Linked DNA regions of Homo sapiens: region 2 is linked to region 1. The links are contacts of gene promoters, found by promoter capture Hi-C in human tissues and cell types (Jung and others, 2019). All regions are on one chromosome and are shown on one strand. The core of a region is centred on a gene start or on the middle of the fragment in contact, and the rest is flanking DNA. Distances in the headings are between cores, read along the strand shown. Region 1 overlaps KRT7 (keratin 7). Region 2 holds the start of KRT81 (keratin 81).

Region 1 (3,234 bases), core at 306-2,805:
GTTATTCTGTGCTTCCCCTCCTGGCCTGGAAGCTGGCCCACTTCATGGGGTGACTCACGGCCCTGCCTCTGTGCCCCAAGGCAGCCTCCGCCCTCCTGTAAACAGGCCCACAGGGCTCCAAGGGGAGGACATTTGTGGGTAAATCACCCTCACATCCCCCCACCACCCACAGCTCATCTGGAAATCAGCTTTCCGAAGCTTCCACATGTGTGCCCTCCCCCTCTCTCCACTGCAGACACCTGCACAGGCTGAGCTGCCCTGGCCACACACTACTCAGCCAGGGCTGGGGGCCCTTCCCCCATCAACACCTCCAACCCCAGCTTCCAGCAAAGCTCATCCTCCCAGGCAGTCTCTCATCTGAGACCCGTGCCCCTGCCATGTGCCAGGTGCTGGAAGAGAGGAGCAGTGAACCAGACAGACAGGGTCCCTGCTCTCCAGGCATCTGTTATATTCCAGTGGAGGTAGGGACCATCAATCACTTAATGAATAAGACAGAACATTTCAGAGAGTGACAGGGGCTTCAAAGAACTTCAGACAGGCTGCCGATAGAGGGGCTGGTGTTTGAGAGTGCCGTCTCTGAGAAGGGGTCTTTTCCTAAACCCCAGGGAGGAGAAAACAACAACCATGGACAGAGCTGGGAGAACCACATTCCAGGGGGAGGCAACGCCAAGTGCAAAGGCCCTGAAGCATGACCATTCTTGGCAAATGCAAGATGCAGGAAGCAGGTTAGCATGGCCAGAGCAGAGTGAGGGGAATCGTGGAAAGTGAGGTTGGAGTGGGTGGGAAAGGGCCATGTGAGTCATTATAAGGTCTTCTGCTGTCCTCTGTCCCTGCAATGAATGATGAGCTCCCAGGGACAGCGCCCTGCAGCCAGAACCAGGTGCAAGCAGAGTGCTCAGTATCAATGTGGAACCAGTGGTGGCTTTCTTCTGGCCAGCCAGCCTGAGTCTCCCTCCACAGGCTCTGTGCACATCCAGGACCTTTCTCCCATCAGCCCATGCCAGGACCTGGCCAAGAACATTCTGTGCTGGAGATCTCACAAGGGGGTCTGAGACAGTGGCACCAGCTTTGGCCGGGAGATGGGAACCTCCTGCTCCACATCCTGAGTTTGGCCTCAGCTGGCCACCCCTGCATGCCCCAAGTAGCAGGGGAAGCCAGGAGGACTTGTCCCACCTGGTTCTTGATGTTGTCGATCTCAGCCTGCAGCCTCTGGATGGCCCGGTTCATCTCTGAAATCTCATTCCGGGTATTCCGGAGGTCGTCCCCATGCTTCCCAGCCTGGGCCTGGAGGGTCTCAAACTGGAGGGGCCATACAGAGAGTTATGGCAGAGAGATGGGCAGTGAGTACAGGTAACTCATCCCTCTCCCCACCCAAGGCCCCTCCCAACTTATATTTTCAGGGAAGGACAGTCTGACTCCCATCAACCTTTGCCCGATGCCAGGAGACCAGACAGCAGTGTGAGGAAGGGATTCATTCTCCTCCAAGCCAGGCAGGGAGGACAGACAAGGCTCCGCAGTCCCATCCCCATGGACCCCAGGGCTCTTCCACTCCCACCATGCCCTTCTGCTGGAGAATCACTGAGAGTTTGAGATTCGCACCCATTCAACACCCAGAACACCCATTTCACAGGTGAGGAGAGTGAGTCTTGGAGAAGAGAAAGCACCACCCAGGGATCACACAGCCAATCAGTGATGGAACGAGGGCCTGAACCCAGGTCTTCTTGTTGGCATACTTGTGTTCTCACCCAGGCACCATGAATGACTCTCTATCTCTGCAGGGGCAGACCTCTCAATCCTTGCCTCGGGATCCCTTCTTCAGGAACACTGGTTCACCCCAGCACCCACTCCTGCTCCCTCAGCCCCTGCACCATCAACTGTCCTGCCACCATGAAGTAGATGTGATGATTAAGCCTCCCAGGTCTAGGGCCCTCACATTCAGGATTTAGTCCCTGCTCTTCCATCTACTAGCTGTATGCAGTTAGGCAAATTACTTAACCTCTCTGTGCCTCAATTTCCTCATCTTTAAATGGGGGTAATAGGCTGGGTGCGGTGTCTCACGCCTATAATCCCAGCACTTTGGGAGGCCGAGGCAGGTGGATCACCTGAGGTCAGGAGTTTGAGACCAGCCTGGCCAGCATGGTGAAACCTCGTCTCTACTCAAAATACAAAAAAAATTAGCCAGGCATGGTGGTGCACACCTGTAGTCCCAGCTACTCAGGAGGCTGAGGCACGAGGATCACATGAACCAGGGAGGCAAAGGTTGCAGTGAGCCAAGATCGCACCACTGCACTTCAGCCTGGGTGACAGAGCAAGACTCCATCTCAAAAAATAGAAATAAAATAAATTAAATTAAATAAAACAAAATGGGGGTAATAATGATGCCTATCTAATAGGGCTGTTCTGTGGATTACATGAGTCAATAATTACATGAGCCTAGTACTGTGTAAGTACTTGCCATATTTTAGCTATTATAATGATTAATCCATATCTATTTCCTCTGCCCTGTCCTCCCATCTTGGGATTTTCTCCAGGGCTGAGCACCACAGACTTAAACCACTGGTGCCTGCCAGAACAGTGGGACCCAGGCCCTGAAGGCTTGAGACAAGTTGAGGAGTAAGGGAAGCTGCCACCAAGGACCCTGGCAGGAGGAAATACGCCCCTGGTGGCCTCACACCTTGGTCTGGTACCAGGCTTCAGCCTCAGCCCGGCTGCATTTGGCCATCTCCTCATACTGCGCCTTGACCTCAGCGATGATGCCGTCCAGGTCCAGGGAGCGACTGTTGTCCATGGACAGCACCACAGATGTGTCGGAGATCTGGGACTGCAGCTCTGTCAACTCCTGTAGGGACCAGACGGGACATCAGGACTTAGGGCAGGATCCTATGCCCACGCCCACCCTGGGATTCCCCACTCACAAAGGAAAGAAAAGAGAGAACAGCTGGGAGTGGGCTGAGTCACCAGGCAGCAAGGGGGCCCAGACCCAGCACACATTAAGTTACTTCATTCTGCCCACCCTTGGCTCCCTGAGGGCCCATTAGCAGTGTCTCAAACGAGAATCTGGCAGGGTTAAAGGGGATAAGGAAAGGGACAGTGTGGTGCGCTGTGGTGACTTCTCACTGTGAGGTTCTGTAGGTGCACGAGCTCTATTGTGAGGGAGGCCATGGGGAATGGATGAAATTATCATATTCCACCATGCTACAGAATACTCTGCAGTCTGTACACCGATGATATGGC
Region 2 (3,171 bases), core at 368-2,867, 49 kb before region 1:
AATTCTAATTCTCTATACAGTTTTTCCTAATACAGGGGGAAATGTACTGAAGTGATCCAACCTCCATCTCCTGGGTTCAAGCAATTCTCCTGCCTTAGCCTCCCATGTAGCTGGGAATACAGGCACGTGCCACCATAACGGGCTAATTTTTGTATTTGTAGTAGAGACGGGGTTTCACCATCTCTGGTCTTAAACTCCTCCACTGAGGCTGGTCTTGAACTCCTGACCTCAGGTGATCCACCCCCCTCAGACTCCCAAAGTGCTGGGATTACAGGTATGAGCCACTGCGCCCAGCTGTGATTCAATTTAGCATCACCAATCTGACATTTTATGCTTCCTGGGGTGATATAATAAGAGTTACACAGCATATTTTATGAAGTATTCTGTCCCAACAATGTTTAATTTAAACCTAATCCAGCCTCTAGCCCAGTGCTGTCCAACAGAATTTTATGTGAAAATAAACAATAAATAAAATAAAAATAAATAATAAAGAAGTGTTCTTTATATGCACTGTCTAATAAGGTAGGCACTACTTACAGGTAGCTGCTGAGGACTCAAAATGTGGATAGTGCAACTGAATAACTAGATTTTTAACTTATTTAGTTTTTACTAACTTAAATTTAAGTAGCCACATCTGCCTATTGTCTACCAAATTGGACATCCCAGCTCAAGATTTACTTTCTAATTTATAGAAAATACAAGGGCTAGAGCCACAAATTAAATTATGTAAAATGTAGTTTTAAAATCCTTAGGACAGTTAGGAAAATTGAATCTGAGATGAATAGTAAGTGGTGCTTTGGAATTATTGTTAATTTTCCTGAATAAGAAAATAGTACTCTCCTTATTCTTAAGAAATTCCTGCTGATGTATTTAAGGGTGACATGCCATGCTTTCTGCCACTCAAATAATTGGGCAACTGTGAAAGCAAATATGGTATAATGTTAACTGTTGAATCGGGGTAAACAGGTGGAGCATCAATGCATGTGTGTTGTATTATTCCAATTTTCCTCAATATTTGAAAGCTTTCATCATAAAAAAGATAAAAGACAAATATTTAATAATCTGCTGACTGTTCCCATGGTAGGAAAAGTGAGATGGTTTTCAGCTGCCAACTGAAAAATCTGGAGATGGGGAAATCCAGATTTGTGTTTCAGGAGCACTTTAGCCACAGCTGTGATGGAAATGAGAGATGGTATTTATTAATGCCTCAGCCTTTCCTGAAACCCCTCTCCCCACATCACACTTAACACACAGGTCTCCTCCTCCCAGTTTCTCCCAGCACCTGGCCTCCCTTCTCTTCCCCTCGCCAGGCTCTACTCCTCCTTCTCGTCCTCTCCTCTGCCTTCCCCTTCCCTCCCCAATGCCTGCAGATGAAGGAATGCCCTGCTGGCAAGACACTTTGAAGATGAAACATGCTGACTCCCCCAGAGCCCAAGACTGACATCTTTTACAAAGAAGAGGGTGCAGGCCACTCCCCCATTAAAGCACATTCTGGAGAGGCGTTAGACCCGGCTAACCACCCAAGCCCATAAAGCGCAAATTGCCCCAACATCATCTTCACAGCCAAGCCCCTTCAGAATCTGCGCATAAATAGGGCTGCGGTGCCCTGAGGAGCACATTGGAGTTTCCATCAGGACTCCAGGTCCCCTATCCTGTCCTCTGCAACCCAAACGTCCAGGAGGATCATGACCTGCGGATCAGGATTTGGTGGGCGCGCCTTCAGCTGCATCTCGGCCTGCGGGCCGCGGCCCGGCCGCTGCTGCATCACCGCCGCCCCCTACCGTGGCATCTCCTGCTACCGCGGCCTCACCGGGGGCTTCGGCAGCCACAGCGTGTGCGGAGGCTTTCGGGCCGGCTCCTGCGGACGCAGCTTCGGCTACCGCTCCGGGGGCGTGTGCGGGCCCAGTCCCCCATGCATCACCACCGTGTCGGTCAACGAGAGCCTCCTCACGCCCCTCAACCTGGAGATCGACCCCAACGCGCAGTGCGTGAAGCAGGAGGAGAAGGAGCAGATCAAGTCCCTCAACAGCAGGTTCGCGGCCTTCATCGACAAGGTGGGTGTCCTGGATCACACCCTTCCTGAACCCCCACCACCTACACAGCCAGGGCCGGGCACTAAGGATGGAGTCAGAGGCACAAAGACCTCTGCCTGCCTGAGATCCCAGTCTGATGGGCGAGGCACACAGACACACAGACAGACAGACACATGCACAGACACACACACACAGGCACTCAAGATGCAGACTCAGCTGACAGTTCAGATAGAGGGAGCTTGTGAAGGAAAAGTGTGGCCAGGCTGCTCTGGGGCACAAGCTAGACATCAGGGAGTTGGGGGAGGGGGGCATGTGACCACTGCTGCTGAACTCAGAGGGGTTTGGGCAGCCCCAGGGTGAGAGAGTAGGGTGCACTGACTTCCAGATGACACAGGGGAAGGGCTGGGACAGCTGAGCTCCCTTCCAGATGGCCTGTGACACCCTCTTCCTGGCACCATCCCCAGAAACCTCATCTGTGATCTGAACCTGAGTACTCTGCCTGTGTGGGTTGCTGATCACCTAGTTTCATAGTGAGGGACTGAGCCTCCACTTCTGTTCATCTGCTTGGGTTGGGGGGGGGGGGTCACTCAACTCCCCAGGGAGCAGGCACTGACACCACCCAGCCCTTGCTCCACTCCTGAGTGGGAAATCTAGACACAGATCATGACCAGGAAATCCAGAAATTGTCTGTCTCCCACTGCCCACCTCTACTCAATCTCAGATAAGCTCCAGATTTGGGGGTTCCCATTAAAGCACCTCCCCTGCGAGCCCCCAGAGCTGGCTTTGGGGCACCAGACACCATCTGCCCCACCTTCCCACACCGAATGGCAGGTGCGCTTCCTGGAGCAGCAGAACAAACTGCTGGAGACAAAGCTGCAGTTCTACCAGAACCGCGAGTGTTGCCAGAGCAACCTGGAGCCCCTGTTTGAGGGCTACATCGAGACTCTGCGGCGGGAGGCCGAGTGCGTGGAGGCCGACAGCGGGAGGCTGGCCTCAGAGCTTAACCACGTGCAGGAGGTGCTGGAGGGCTACAAGAAGAAGTGAGTGCGGGCAAGAGGGATGCTGGGCACAGGAATGGGGTTTAGGTTAAATACACTGGATTAGACAATAAGAACTCCCAGGTAGGGTGAGTGGCCAT

Evidence for each region. The method cuts DNA at HindIII sites, captures the fragments that hold promoters and counts their contacts. A contact is called where the count stands out against the background at its distance.
Region 2: a contact is called between the fragment with the promoter of KRT81 here and a fragment that was not itself captured in region 1, in 2 of the 25 tissues and cell types used here (neural progenitor cells and small bowel).

What each region holds. Positions count from the first base shown.
Region 1 is chr12:52,241,077-52,244,310 of GRCh38, reverse strand. It overlaps KRT7 (keratin 7), which reads right to left. Exons shown (of 9, transcript NM_005556.4): 5 at 2,675-2,839; 6 at 1,174-1,299. Among named protein-coding and RNA genes, the nearest start is that of KRT7-AS, 4.8 kb to the left of the region's middle. RefSeq lists enhancers at 1-101, 495-1,470. The HindIII fragment of the contact is 8,834 bases long and covers 1-3,234 here.
Region 2 is chr12:52,289,980-52,293,150 of GRCh38, reverse strand. KRT81 (keratin 81) reads left to right here and starts at 1,617. Exons shown (of 9, transcript NM_002281.4): 1 at 1,617-2,054; 2 at 2,865-3,073. The coding sequence starts at 1,686. All of the region lies in intron 2 of KRT86 (keratin 86), which reads right to left. The HindIII fragment of the contact is 10,526 bases long and covers 1-3,171 here.